2 separate regions of the Homo sapiens genome follow, and region 2 is linked to region 1. Evidence: promoter capture Hi-C in 16 types of primary human blood cells and fetal thymus (Javierre and others, 2016). All regions are on one chromosome and are shown on one strand. Each heading gives the region's core, a stretch centred on a gene start or on the middle of the fragment in contact. The rest is flanking DNA. Distances are from core to core; before and after follow the strand shown. Region 1 holds the start of ACAT2 (acetyl-CoA acetyltransferase 2). Region 2 holds the start of FBXO5 (F-box protein 5).

Region 1 (7,338 bases), core at 2,147-4,646:
TCTGGACCCATCATGGGGTGGCTGTGCTGAGGGAGTGTTGAGCTAGCCCCTAGTGGTAAGGAGTACACTGCTGACCTTCATCCTATGGCAATTCCACTTTGGTGATTCACTGTTCCCCTCATGGAGACCAAGGAGGAATTTGCTGCATGGTAGGTTGGTGAATCCAGCCTGTAGCAAAGACCTGGCTTGGACTCCTGCAACTCTTTATGAAACTTAACCAAGAATGATTGCATCTTCCAGCGGGGGAAGATGCTGAGAAGGCCCCTTCAGGATAAACTGGCTCCATAGCACTGCTGTAATGATGGCTCCTCATGAGTAAGCACTTGGAGATTTTTGTGGCTTCCTGCCCACTCACCCTGCTCACCAGTCCAGGTAGTTTATGATTTGAGATCTAGATGTAATTTTATTTTATTTCTTTTTTTTTTTTTGAGATGGAGTTTCGCTCTTGTTGCCCAGGCTGGAGTACAATGGTGCAATCTCGGCCCACCACAACCTCCGCCTCCCAGGTTCAAGCAATTCTCCTGCCTCAGCCTCCCTAGTAGCTGGGATTTACAGGCATGTGGCACCACGCCCAGCTAATTTTGTATTTTAGTAGAGACAGAGTTTCTGCATGTTGGTCAGGCAGGTCTTGAACTCCCGACCTCAGGTGATCTGCCCGCCTCGGCCTCCCAAAGTGCTGGGATTACAGGCATGAGCCACCGCGGCCGGCCAAGACATAATTTTAAAAATTATCTTCCAGCTGGCCGGGCGCGGTGGCTCACGCCTGTAATCCCAGCACTTTGGGAGGCCGAGGTGGGCGGATCACAAGGTCAGGAGTTCGAGATCAGCCTGACTAACATGGTGAAACCCCGTCTTTACTAAAAATATAAAAATTAGCTGGGCATGATGGCACGGGCCTGTAATCCCAGCTACTCAGGACTCTGAGGCAGAAGAATCGCTTGAACCCGGGAGGTGGAGGTTGTGGTGAGCCGAGATAGCGCCACTGCACTCCAGCCTGGGTGACAGAGCGAGCTCCGTCTCAAAAAAAAAAAAAAAATTCCTCTTCTTTCCTTCATTCATTATTCTTAGTCTCTGTCTGTCTCATATGAGTAGATAATCATATGAGTAGCTATAATGAGGACTCCTCAGGGGACAGATTCTGTTTGGCCACTCAGCAGAAGCATGCAATTACCTTCTCAAGATTGGCTCCTAAACTTACTCTAGATAGAGCCTTCAGGCAGGAAACTCTATATCCCTTGGCTCCAGAAGAATATATTCATACTCATTCAAATGTGCTAGGCACTGGCCATAAAGAATATTGGTGTTCATTCATAACTGCCTATAATGTGCTAGGAGCTGTGCATAAAGCAGTGTAACAGGATCATCTTGGAAAGCTTATGTAGTCAGTAGAGGAGACAGATAAACTAGGAATTACATGGTAAGTTGAAAGAGGAAGTTAGGGGTAAGATGCTGCACCAAATGCAGGAGATTGGAAGGTTTTTCTGGAAGAAGTGATGTTTAGGGGGAGTTTCAGAGGTAAATTTCTGGTTTGGTTAACAGAAGATAGTTTCACTGCTCACTGAGATTACAGAAGAAACAGGCTGGAAGAGTTTGGTTTCAATATGTCAAATTTGATGTGCTTATAGGAAATTTTATTTATTTGAGACAGTTTCTCTCTGTCGCTCAGGCTGGAGTGCAGTGGTGTGATCTCGGCTCACTGAAACCTCTGCCTCCTAGGTTCAAGCGATTTTCCCATGTCAGCCTCCCCAGTAGCTGGGATTACAGGCGCACGGCACCACGCCCGGCTAATTTTTCTATTTTATGGTAGAAACGGGATATCACCATGTTGGCCAGGCTGGTGTCAAACTGCTGACCTCAAATGATCCGCCCTCCTCGGCCTCCCAAAGTGCTGGGATTACAGGTGTGAGCCAAGGTGCCCGACCTGATGTGCTTGTAAGAATTTAAATGAAGAGGGTCAGTCAGCTTAGGAGACGAGGTTAGATGTAAGGATTTCAGACTTGTCAGTATACAGGTGGTGATTGATGCCGTAGGAATGACTGGTATTACCCAGGGAGCTGGTGCAAAGTAGGAGCCTTGGGGAACATGTTAAGGGGATGTGAGAGTAAGCCCACAAAGACTCAGAAGTGGCCAGGGAGTAAGGGGAAAATGGGATAGAATAGAGCAAAAGCCACGGGAGGCATTCCTTGAATTCCTTGGACTCAGATATGTTAGGGGACAGGAAACACATTGAAGACAACTGAAGAGACTTCAGTGTGCTGCTGAGTTCTTAGCAGAGTAGACAGCTGATTTCACCACTATTCCAGACCCTAAAGATTTCTCCTGAAATTGCACTGTTATGCAATTTTTTTCCTTCTCTATTGCCCCACCTCTGGGGCCTACACTCTTTACCTTCTCTGATTTATCTGACCCATCCGCATATCTCTGCAAAGTCTTAATGTAGGTTTCCAGGATTTAATGATTCTTTCAATCAACTTTAAAGTTCTTCAGGAAGATTCTCCAGGTCCGTCAACAGTTTTCCCCTTCATGACTTTGTGACAAAGCTTTCTTGTTCCACTATCCAGGTGTTCCCAACAAGTTGCTGTAACGGTGGCCCCTCATAAGCTTGCCTGGAAACCCTAGAAAGCTCAGAAAAATTATGAACTTTGCCCAGTAAGAGGCTGGGAAGTCAGAAAGGGTTTTAAACAAAACTGACCCCACTTGTTACATGCTCCTTTCACTGTCCAAACGTCAACCAAAGGAACTTTTGTGACGCTAAGACGCTCCCGGCGTCCTCACCCGTTCACAGCCAGAGTTGATCTTAGAAGGCAGGGGGCTCGCACCGAGACGCTCCTAGCAAGCCCCTCACGCGAGCGAATGACTGGCGCCAGGAGAAACGCATAGGACCTCCCGAAGCCGCCGAGAGCAAAAGGACCCATCAGAGCTGTGCTGAGACCCGCCGCGGGCCGGGCTCGCACTCGAGATTCTCGCCCGTGGGATTCCAGTCCTGAGCTGAACGAGAGATAAGTCTTTGTCACCCCCCAGTCTTTACTGTTTCGAGAAACCCTAAGATTTTTTAAAAAAAAGCCCAAGACGTCAAGTCGGGGAACTCCAACATTGGGGTGTCCAGAAACACTGGGGTTTCAGGCGCTCTGTAAATGCGTCCGAGGTCCGCGGTTCTGCCCGCAAGCCCAGACCCCGGCCTCACTTCCGCCCCGCGCCCCGCGCCCCGGCCTCACTTCCGCCCCGCGCCCCGCGCCCCGCGCCCCGCGCGCCTCCGCCCGCCCCTGCTCCGGCCTTGCGCCTGCGCACAGTGGGATGCGCGGGGAGGTGGTGCGCGGGGAGGTGGAGGGCGAGGGGCGGGGCTACCTCAGGTCCCGCCCGCGGCAGGCCTGTGGGCTGCGAGGAGGAGCTTTGCCTAGCTTGCAGGCAGCGCAGGGCAGACGGCGGCAGGAGAAGCAAGATGAATGCAGGCTCAGATCCTGTGGTCATCGTCTCGGCGGCGCGGACCATCATAGGTGAGTGGCCGGCGGGAGCCGCGCAGAGTCCGAGGCGCCTGCTGCTTCGGCAGGAGCGCCGAGGGCCGGACTTGTGTAGGAGAGGGGCGTATGTGGAGGAAGCCGGTCAGGCCAAGCCGCGAGGAGCCGCGGGATCCCTGGAACCCTGCGGCTCCCGCGTTCCCTGACCTGGTGCTACAGCCCCACCCTCTCCTCTCCCGATGTGCGCACTCCGTCCCTCGTGCTTGGATTGGCTCCCGGGGTAGAGCCATCGCGTGGCCTGCCTCTCCCATTGGTTGGCGTAGGGAGGTGTTCTCCTCCGGGGCCCCTGATTGGCCGGCTCCGGGAGGCGCCATCGGTAATGCCTGCGGCAGGGGCGGAACTGCTAGGTGGTCTGAGCCCGGCTTTGGGCTGGGGTCGGGCTGTCACACAATGGCTAGAAGTCGTGACTTCGTCTCCTTCGTGCCGCATGGTTTTCAACGCCCTTGACCCGCCGGTTCCTTTTGTTTGGGAAGCATGGGGTCGCATCCAGTCCTTCGGATTTGGGGAAATAGAAGGGCTACAGCGGCGTCCCTAGGCCGTTCTGGAGGTCGCCTGTCCAGCCCTCGGCTGCTGCGAGTTGTGGCACCCACCTTGACCTTTGCTCAGACCAGCAGGTGTAGGAACGTGTGGGAGGAGAGGGCACTGCCTCCTCGCGTGGCCTTGCCAAACAGGGTCATGAGGCTCCCCTGCTCGTAGGTGGTTCCCGTATTACCCGCAGGCTTGTGATGTCCACGCTCTCCGCCTTTCTATTGTAGGTTCCTTCAATGGTGCCTTAGCTGCTGTTCCTGTCCAGGACCTGGGCTCCACTGTCATCAAAGAAGTCTTGAAGAGGGCCACTGTGGCTCCGGAAGATGTGTCTGAGGTCATCTTTGGACATGTCTTGGCAGCAGGTAAGTCTCAGTGATTCCAGGAGAAGTCAGGCTTATTAGAAACAGCCCATAAACACACACACACACACACACTCTCACACACTCACACACTCTCTCACTCACTCAAGTTCTTGCCTCCTTGCTTTTGCTCAGAGTTCCCTCTGTTATGATTCCTCCTGTTGGCCCCCTTCTTCCAGCCCTGTCAGTAGCTTCTATCCAGCTTGAGACTCAGCTTCTTGGCCAGGCAGGGTGGCTCCCGCCTGTAATCCCAGCACTTTGGGAGGCGGAGGAGGAAGGATCACTTGAGTCCAGAAGTTTGAGACTAGCCTGGGCAACAAAGCAAGACCCCGTCTCTACAAAAAATAAAATAGCCAGGTATGATGGCCTGTGCCTCCCAGCTACTGGAGAGGCTGAGGTGGGAGGATCACTTGAGCCCAGGAGTTTGAGACTGCAGTGATTGTGTCACTGCACTCCGTCATGGGTGACAGAGTGAGACCCCTTCTCTAAACAAACAAAAAGACTTAGCTTCATTAATATGCTTTTTGTGAATGAACTTAGACCACTGACCTACACCACCTACACTGCCTTTTCTTTTCCTTTTTTTTTTTTTTTTTTTTTTTTTTTTGAGACGGAGTCTCTCTCTGTGGCCCAGGCTGGAGTGCAGTGGCGTGATCTCGGCTCACTGCAAGCTCCGTCTCCCGGTTTCACGCCATTCTCCTGCCTCAGCCTCCCGAGTAGCTGGGACTACAGGCGGCCCACTGCCTTTTCATTCTTACGAAGCAGGGCCGGCCGGGCCCGGTGGCTCACGCCTGTAATCCCAGCACTCTGGGAGGCCGAGGTGGGCGGATCATGAGGTCAGGAGATCAAGACCATCCTGGCTGACACGGTGAAACCCCGTTTCTACTAAAAATACAAAAAATTAGCCGGGTGTGGTGGCGGGCGCCTGTATTCCCAGCTACTTGGGAGGCTGAGACAGGAGAATGGCGTGAACCCGGGAGGCGGAGCTTGCAGTGAGCTGAGATTGTGCCACTGCACTCCATTCAGCCTGGGCAACAGAGTGAGACTCCTTTTAAAAAGAAGAAGAAGAAGCAGCAGCAGGGCCAGCCTGACGCATAGGAAAGTATGCCTGCTCCTCCTTACTACCTCAAAGTGTCACTCATTCAACAAAAATGTATTCAGTTCCTCCTATGTGCCCCATACTGTGCTTAGTGCTGGGAGTATGGTTCCAACAATACAGGTAAGTTCCCTGCCCTCTTAGGGCTCAGTTCTGAGCTTGGAAAATAGGTGCCACATCATGCCCCTTGCAAATGGGGCATATCACTCCCCAGAGGAATATAGCTGAGTCCTGAGAGTGCCCCCATCTTCTGATTCTTTGGGTTTGAACACTCGTAATTAATTAATTAATTATTATTATTATTATTTAAAGAGACAGGGTCTCACTCTGTTGTCCAGGCTGGAATGCAGTGGTGTAATCAATCGTAGCCCACTATAACCTCAAACTCCTGGGCTCCACGGTATCCTCCCACCTCAGCCTCTGGAGTAGCTGGGATTACAGGAGCAGGCCACCACACCTGGCTAATTTTTTAAATTTTTTTGTAGAAGTGGAGTCTGTCTGTTGCCTGGGCGTGAGTGCAATGGCTGTTCACAGGCACAATCATGGTGCACCATGCCCTTGAACTTCTGAGCTAGCTGGGACTACCGGTGCATGTCTACTAAGTTTAAGGCTTTTAAAGCACTGTGCTAAATGCTTTCCTTTCATTACCTCATTTAATCTTCCTCACAAGTCTGTTATATCCTATTATCTTCATTTTACAAATGAATAAATGAGAGTTTAAGAGGTTAAATGACTTACCAGGGTCACAGTTTGAAGTGGAGCTAGCACTTGAACTTAGATCTGTCCTATTCCTTGAGCCAGATACCTTCTACAATCATGTAACAAATGTTTATTGAGCACCTACTTTGTGCCAGGCACTATTTTAGCAGCTGGAGATAAGCAATGTTCATATCAGATAGAAATTCTCATTCTCATGAAGCTCGTAGTATGCTAAATGCTAGCATTATTAATTGTGTTAGCACCTCATTTCTTTCTTTTTCTTTTTTTGAGATGGAGTCCCACTCTGTTGCCCAGGCTGGAGTGCAGTGACGCAATCTTGGCTCACTGCAACCTCTGCCTCCCGGGTTCCAGTGATTCTTCTGCCTCAGCCTCCCAAGTGACTGGGATTACAGGTGCCTGCCACTGTGCCCAGCTAATTTTTGTATTTTTAGTAGAGATGGGGTTTCAACATGTTGGCCAGGCTGGTCTCGAACTTCTGACCTCAAGTTATCCACCCGCCTCGGCCTCCCAAAGTGCTGGGATTACAGGCATGAGCCACCATGCCCAGCCCTGTACCTCATTTCTTCTTTTTCTTTTTTTTGAGATGGAGTCTCACTCTGTCGCCCAGGCTGGTGGAGTGCAGCCGTACAATCTCGGCTCACTGCAACCTCTGTCTCAGGTTCAAGCAATTCTCCTGCCTCAACCTCCTGAGTAGCTGGGATTACAGGCGTGCACCACCATGCCCAGCTAATTTTTGTATTTTTAGTAGAGAGGGGGGGTTTCACCATATTGTCCAGGCTGGTCTCAAACTCCTGACCTCAAGTAATGCGCCCCCCTCCCCCGGCCTCCCAAAGTGCTGGGATTACAGGTGTGAGCCACTGCTCACAGCCTGAGGCACCGCACTGGGCCTGTCTTTTTAATATGTATATGATCCTGCATATGTTTTCAGTCTCAAGTAACCTTACCCGTTTTTAGTTTCCAGCCTAATCCCAGATTGATAACATTGTGATGAATATAATCTCTAAGTTTTTATCAGCGACTTATTTGCTAGTTCTTCCCCACAAACTCTCCAAGGAAGGGTGGTAGGTTTGAGTATATCTGAAACTGGGAATAGAGTAACCACTTTATAAACATTTACCAT
Region 2 (7,338 bases), core at 2,603-5,102, 6.8 Mb before region 1:
TTCCAATGCTTACAAACCTTTTGAGGTAGGATGGGGAATTGTTATTTTTACAATTGAGCACACTGAAGTGTAGCTTAGTTTGCCCAATACAGGCAGTTAATTAAATGAGCCAGATTTCTCTTCCTCATTATAATGAGGTGCTCTGGAAAAACAGATCTTACAAATAACATTCATACTGTTTATAAAAATGATAGAAAAGTCAGAATTTATGTTGCAAGCGCACTTAAGGTACTAAAGAAGAAAATGTGTACGTTTCTTTTCTCATGTGAGCTGGCCCTTTTCCAGTCCTTAGTAACAATGACCTTTCCATCCCAGGGGCTTTGTACATCATGCCTTTCCCTGCTTAGAATCTTTTCCACTTCCTTTGCTTATTTAGCTTCTAATCCATTAATCATGGAGAGCTTCATTTTTTGGGGGGGGGGGGGGGGCGGGGGACTTCTCAGACCTCATCAAACTCTACTCTAAAGCACTACCAAATTGAAATTTTAAAAAGTACTTTAATTTCCTTAAAGGCCAGACATAACTGTTACTGCTTATGACAAAATCCAAGCAAATGGCAGTGCCTGACACAATGAAGACATATGATATAAAAATGTGTTTCCCATTTTTTTTTGTTAGCTAATACCAACATTAGAATCTGTACTCTTCCTCACGAAATTAGCACTTAAGGAGTTAAAATGACTACCACGTTCCTCTTGCAACAACAGTATTTTCACATGGATAATTAGATTTAGTATTTAGGTAAGGTGCAGTGGCTCATGCCTATAATCCCAACACTTTGGGAGGCTGAGGTTGGGGGACTGCTTGAGCTCAGGAGTTCAGACCAGTCTGGGCAACATAAAGAGACTCCATCTCTACAACAATTAAAAAAAGAAACTAGCTGGGCATGGTGGCATGTGCCTTTGGTACCAACTACTAGGGAGGCTGAGGCGGGAGAATTGCTTGAGCCCGGGAGGTTGAGGCTGCAGGGAGTTGTGATCATACCACTGCATTCCAGCCTGGAAGACAGAGGGAAACCCTGTCTTAAAAAAAAAGAAAAAAGAAAAAAAAAGGTTTAGTATTTTAAAAGAATTTTAATAAACTTATTTGAATTCACAGAAAAGCTGCAAGGATAGTGCAGAATTCCTGTACACCCATTGCTTAACTTATATTACTAACAGTAATGCATGTCACAACAAATTAACCAATATTGTTGCATTATTAACTAAAATCCCTATTTTATGTGGACTGCTGTAGTTTCTACCTAAAATCTTTTTTCTGTTCCCGGGTCTTATCCAGGATACATTACATTTAGTCATCATATCTCCTTAGGCTCCTCTTGACTATGACAATTTCCTTGTTTATAATTACCTTGACAACTCTGAGAAATACTGGTTATTTTGTAGCCTGTTCCACAATTAGGATTTGTCAAGTTTTTCTCAGCCTTAGTCTGGGGCTGTGGGTTTTTAGACCAGAGGTAAGGTGCTATGATTTGAACTGTTGTTAGCCTTGATTACTTGGCTGAGGTAGTATTTCTGAGCTTGCTCCAAATGTAAAGTTACTCCTTTTTGTTCTTTTTCCATTTGAAACTTTTTGGAAGGAAGTCACTATGTACACCTCACACTTAAAGGAGTGGGGAGTAAATTTATAAATCATTTGGAATTCTTCTTTACAGCAGATTTGTCCATTAATCTCCTATTTATTCATACTACCAATCATTTATATCAGTATAAACTCATAGACTTTGGGTTATAATCCAATACTATTTACTGTATTGCTCAAATTGTTCCAGCTTTTGCTATTGTGAGCTCTTGCAGTTGACATTGGTGTCCATTTCACATACTTAAATCATTTTGTGTTTTGAACATCCCTTACTTTCTGGGACTACAAGATGCTCTAAGTGCATCTTATAATTTCCGTTTCAGCCCTAGAATCAGTCATTTCTCCAAGCACTGTGGTTTCCTTTTTTTTGGAAAAAGGTATTAAATGAGAGTGAAATCTGGATGTTGGTTGTAGATTTAATTTTAAAATATGAAATTAATGTATTTTTCATTTCCATAACAATACTGCAGAAGAAATAGAATAGCATCATATTTTATAAAAATGGAAGCTGAAGCAACTGTTTGCAAAAGGTTAAATCCATTCCTTTTAACTAGCTAAGTGTTTTCCAATGACCAGGCCAAATTTGGGAAATATGTGAAGTATTCATATAATTATTATCCAGAAAGACAGAAAACATTATATGGCTTCATAACCTCTTGAATGAAACAGATGAGGGCTAAGAGTTCAGTTGAACCATTTCACTTATTTATCCAACATCCATTCAGTGACAGGGTAGGGAGAGAGAAAGATATTAATTAGGGATGATCTTTCAGCAAAGCTGACATTCTGAGATCTGAACACCTTATGGAAATCTGGTGGAGGAGTTCCAGATGGTGGGAAACACAGGAAGCAAGGAAAAATGTGAGTGTTCAAGGAAGAGAAATATCTGTAGGGCTGAGTTGGGGGAGGTTATTGAAAATTATAGTTGAAGAAGTAGAATGATCTGCAGATTTGTGGGGTAGGCTGGGTCAAAAGTGGAGAAATTTGGTTTACATTTTTAAAAGATCATTGGCAATTGTGGAGAATGAATTGCAGGAAGGTAAGTAGAAGCAGAGAGAATAGTTAGAAGTGTTTATGACAGAAGTAGAGTGTGGGAAACCCAGACTAGAAGGATTGTAGTGGAAATGAAAATAACTGCATAAATTCAAGGTCTGTTATTTAGAAGGGTAAAGTCAACTTGCTGCTAATCTACTAGATCTGGATATGAAGAAAAGGAGAGTAAAAAAACACCCTGGGGTTTAAGTCTTGAGTATCGAAGGTATACAGTGCTATTTACTGAGTATGGAAAACTGAAGAAGTTAACTCTTAAAACCTCACTTTCCTCATCCATAAAATGGGAGTAAGACAATGAAACAGGACTAAATGCAAGGCAAAGTCCCTATCACAAGGGTCTAGTCAATACAATCTATTTTTAATCACATAAGCCAAATCCCTTCATATTCCTTACATTGACAATCATTAACATTTGAAAGTAGTAAAACACATTTCACAAAGAAGTATATATTTCAGAGTAACACATACTTTTCCATTAGAATGTATAGATTTAAGAATCAGATCCAAGTTTGAATGAAAATCCTTGCTTAGCCTTTTGACTAGCTTTGTGAACTTGGAATGTCCTATTCCTATTTTTCCCCCAAGTGCAGACACTAATAAGACTCATACATGGCATTGTTTAAACTTCTCATTTACCAACTCCCAGCCCAGTCATATAGAGAAAAGTAAATTTTACAATGTTTGATCTTACATTTAACTTTTCAATATAGACCTGATCCTCCATATCAAATATCATAAATAAGGCTGCAGTCCTTAAAAATCTTTGTAACTCTTCTGTTAAATAATTAAGTTCCAGTCTCTAATACCTACAGATAACGACCATGTGGTCAACGTTAGGCATGGCTATTCCTTAAGAATTTAAGAGGCCCAATGCTTGTGACCATAAAGTAATCTTTAAGAGAAAATTTTACAAAAGCCTCCTTTGAAAACTACTTGGAAGTAACATATATGTATTTTTAATTTCATCTCCTCAAACCTGTAAACTGGGGAAAAAATTCCAACAGGCAGTCATTTCTTTCTGAGGAGCAAGGTAGTAAAGACAATTAGAGTTATCAAAAAAGAAAAAAAAAAAACCCTCATAAGGCCATCAAGCTTCAGAATTTCGATGGTAGACTGACGATCCAGGATCTTCTAGAAATATATTTAATCTATTAAAATTAAAATTAAGTATTTTTTTCTAGAGTTCTTTTTTAATAATAGAGTCATTACAAAATAGTACAATGCCGAATTGCTAAATTTTTTCATTTTGGGTTATTTCTCAGGTAAAAATAAGTGCATATAGATTTTATTTAGAGGTAGCAACAAAGAGGATAAAAATAAGCATTTGAGTGCATTCCATTCTCTGCAAGCTTTGAAATAAAGGACTATCTAATTCTTCATGAGTTATCGGGAAAAAGTCACCAATTCTTCGATTCTTACAAAATCATCTTAATACTATGGACAAATTCAAGGTTCGTAGTAAAAATTGCTTTTTTTAAAGTCTTCCCTTTCCACTCCAGGCCCTGAGACTGGGTTAACGGGCAAAGGGAGAAAAAATTGGGAAAAAGTAACGTTTTTGTTTGGATGTCCCAGTTGAGTTTGGTCCAATGAGTTGGGGGGGTGTCTCTCCATTTGGCGGGAGTGGGGAGGGAGACCCTGGAACTCCTGAGGGATCGGTGGGGCTGCCCCTCAGGGCGCGGGACACGCGGAGGAGGCGGGAGATAACCGCGAGCGCGATCTCCCGCGCCCGCCAGCAAGGCTGGGACCGCGAAAAATCGGGGAAACTGCCTTTGGCTGTGAGGGTGCGGGGCAGATGTAGAAAAGGGGCGCAGGGGGAGAAGGTGAGGCACCTGGCCAGGCCCTGGGGGCTTCTCGCTCGCAGCCCTGTCACCGCCGGGGGCCCCGGGGTGGGGGAGGGGAGGGGCATTTGGCGCCTATTCAAGCAGGGTGGGGTAGGTGGGTCTTCCGAGGAGGAAAAAGGGCGCCCTGGGATGCCACGACCCGCACCTCCCGGGGCTGGAGTCCACGGTCGGCGTGGGTGGCGGGACCCCGCGGCCCGCCATCCCGCCCCTGCACATCTGGCTCTTCTGGCTTCCCCCCGACACCCAGCCGCCCTCCTCCCGGACCCAGGAACCGCTGCCGCCGCCCGAGGCCGGGCGTGTGGCATGGCCGCGCGTCCAGGCTCCGAGGGACGTCGGGTCAGGGTCTCAGGCTGCGACCCTCCCCGTGCACCCCTCCTGGCGTGCGCGCCCCCCTCGCGACCGCTCCCCTCACTCACTATCCGAGGGTCGAGGGCGCCCGGCGGCTGTCACTGCGCTGGGGCTGGCGCTGCAGGAGCAGCGGGGTGGCCGTAGGGCGCAGCTGCAGGGGCGCCGGCTCATGCCAGCCGACGTGGAGTCTGCCTCAGGTGGAGGAACCGCTCCGGGGGCAGCTGAGCAACCTGCCTGCTTCACAGACCTGTATCTCTTAAAAGGCGCCAGCTGGTACTTTTAAAATCTTTGAATTTGGTGCCTAAATCCGCGCGGTCCAATGAGACGCGTCGCTTGCATGCGCGCACCAATAGGAGGGCAGTGGGTGGGGGCGCCCTCGTCCGCGCCCAATTGGAGGCTGCCGAGGCGGGGCCGAGCCGCGAAGCCCAGCCCCCTTCCAGCTTACCGGCTCCCCACGTCCGGAAAGATGCTACGGCCGGGGGCGGGACCTCCGAGCACGGGGAGGCCGCGGCCCGGCCACACGTGTGGAGGGTCTATCACGCATGCGTGCGCCCGCCAAGATTCCTTCCGCCGTCTTCTGGACCGGCCTCCTGCAAGTCCTAATCTCAGCCCAAATTCAGCGCTGGCTTCCATCTGGAGATCTTTGATGGGTACAAATGGTAGCCGACTTTCTTCGATCATCTCTCGAACGGGAGTTCGGTGAGCAGCAACTCGGCTCGTCCGGGAATCCAGACTTTCCGGAAGACGGACCCTCCCCCCAGTCCAGCTTAGCCCGCCTCTCTAGGATTTACGCGCGCGCTCTGCTCTCCCTCCTAACTCGACCCTCCCCTTGACCCACGCCTCTGCGCAGGCGCCTTGGCGGGCTGTGGCTGCGGAGTTGGCGGGTCGGCGCCTGCGCACTGGAGTCCCCCGCGATTTTTTCCTCCGGGGTGGGCGAGGAGGCTGTGCGGCCTTCCCCAGCGGCTGTAGCAGGAGACCTGCGGCTGCATCTCCCAGGGCCTTCCGGCGGGGCCGAGGGTAGGACCGAGGCACTTCTTCCTTGCAAGCGCGTTTATTTGTATTTTCAACCACACTTCAGACGCTACTGGTTTATAGGAACGTTAAGTTTACTGAGTGTGCAGCTACGCTCCCCTGGGTTTTTGTTCCTTTCCTTAAAGGGCCAGGTGTAGGAGACAGTAGTCCTGCTCCCAAAAAAAGAATAAATAGAAGTGCCCGCCCTCTTGGGCTGGACCCCCGTGGCCAAGGGAGTTTTTAGTGATGGCTGGCATGGACGTCAGTATGAAAGTGTACCGGAGTATTAGTGATGCTTAACTTTTCACAATTTGAATATGCACTTAAGTAGGGCAGTGCATTCCCTGAACTCAGCTTTATGGCTACAGCCCAGTGAAGCAACGGGATGTGAACTCCAAAACGGCGAATCCTCCTTTGCTGTTTCCCTCTGGTGCCTTTCTGCAGCCTCGGAGTGAGTTCTTGGCTGTAGTCAGTTTTCAGTACCGTTAGTGACGAGTCCGGTGGGGCGCGGCCAGGATTAGGATGAATCATACAAGTGCTGGGTGGATCCTGTCTTTACCTAAAATTTTGATAATTAGTTGTGGGGCGCGGCCAGGATTAGGATGAATCATACAAGTGCTGGGTGGATCCTGTCTTTACCTAAAATTTTGATAATTAGTTCATCATGGGTTTTTTGCCTTTTTCATTTTTAAAAATGTTAAAATAGTGTCACTCTTGATGACTTAAATTTTTTTCATCCCCGTAAACGCACCTGAGGCCTGTGCTTCCTTGCCTCACCCTAACCTGGCCCTGGGGCTAGATCCTGGAGATTCAGGGTTGAAAAGACAAAGTCCTGTCCTTTAGGGAGTTTACAGAGACCAATGGGAAAGAAGTTGACAGTGAACAATTTCAGAACACGAAAGAGGATATGAAAGAATGTAATCGGGGGTAGAGAATGCAGATTAGTATAGGTTAAGGATTTTGGATGGTCAGGACGCTTTCTGAGGCTTTGAACCCAGATGCGTTGAACTGGCAATGCAGGGCTGCATAATAAGCAGAGGGAATAATAAGCAGAGGGAATGCCTGACTACGACTTAGTGAACAAGAGAGAGAGGAGATGAGGTTAGAGAGGTAGGCAGAAGCCAGATCCTGTGGGACCTTGTAGTTTTTCCATGCAGAGTTTAGACTTTCTTCTGATTGCAGTGGTTAGCTGTTGGAAGGATTTTGGCAAGGTAGTTATTTGTTGATAGAATATTGAAATTATAATAGCTTTTTTATGTAAAAAAAAGAATGTAAATGTTAGCCTTTCATTCTCACAATAGGTTAGCATTATTTTCAGTGTACAATGGTCGTGCTTCTCAGTGTGAGTTAATTCTCACTGTGGCTACCAAAACCACACAGCTAGTAAGCGGAGATTCGAGTGCCCGTCTGCAGGATTCAAAAAGTCCATGTCCTTTCCTCTTATGCTATGCTAGCCTATAACACTATCTGCTGGAGTCCTGGTTGGTTTTAGTACATTTCACAT

What was found. Contacts are between HindIII fragments. The CHiCAGO score rates a contact against its expected background, and 5 or more counts as called.
Region 2: a contact is called between a fragment that was not itself captured here and the fragment with the promoter of ACAT2 in region 1, in 1 of 17 cell types (fetal thymus). The highest score is 5.8, in fetal thymus.

Annotation. Positions count from the first base shown.
Region 1 is chr6:159,758,649-159,765,986 of GRCh38, forward strand. ACAT2 (acetyl-CoA acetyltransferase 2) reads left to right here and starts at 3,397. Exons shown (of 9, transcript NM_005891.3): 1 at 3,397-3,494; 2 at 4,271-4,405. The coding sequence starts at 3,440. It overlaps SOD2-OT1 (SOD2 overlapping transcript 1), which reads right to left and starts at 3,684. Exons shown (of 2, transcript NR_037166.1): 1 at 3,346-3,684; 2 at 1,610-2,988. It also overlaps a transcript of SOD2 not described here. RefSeq lists enhancers at 2,650-2,709, 4,778-5,278 and silencers at 3,140-3,199, 3,220-3,369. The HindIII fragment of the contact is 5,525 bases long and covers 2,600-7,338 here.
Region 2 is chr6:152,977,966-152,985,303 of GRCh38, forward strand. It overlaps FBXO5 (F-box protein 5), which reads right to left and starts at 5,076. Exons shown (of 5, transcript NM_012177.5): 1 at 4,892-5,076. The coding sequence starts at 4,994. RefSeq lists silencers at 4,510-4,579, 5,060-5,379 and enhancers at 5,410-5,629, 5,920-6,039, 6,570-6,669. The HindIII fragment of the contact is 257 bases long and covers 3,725-3,981 here.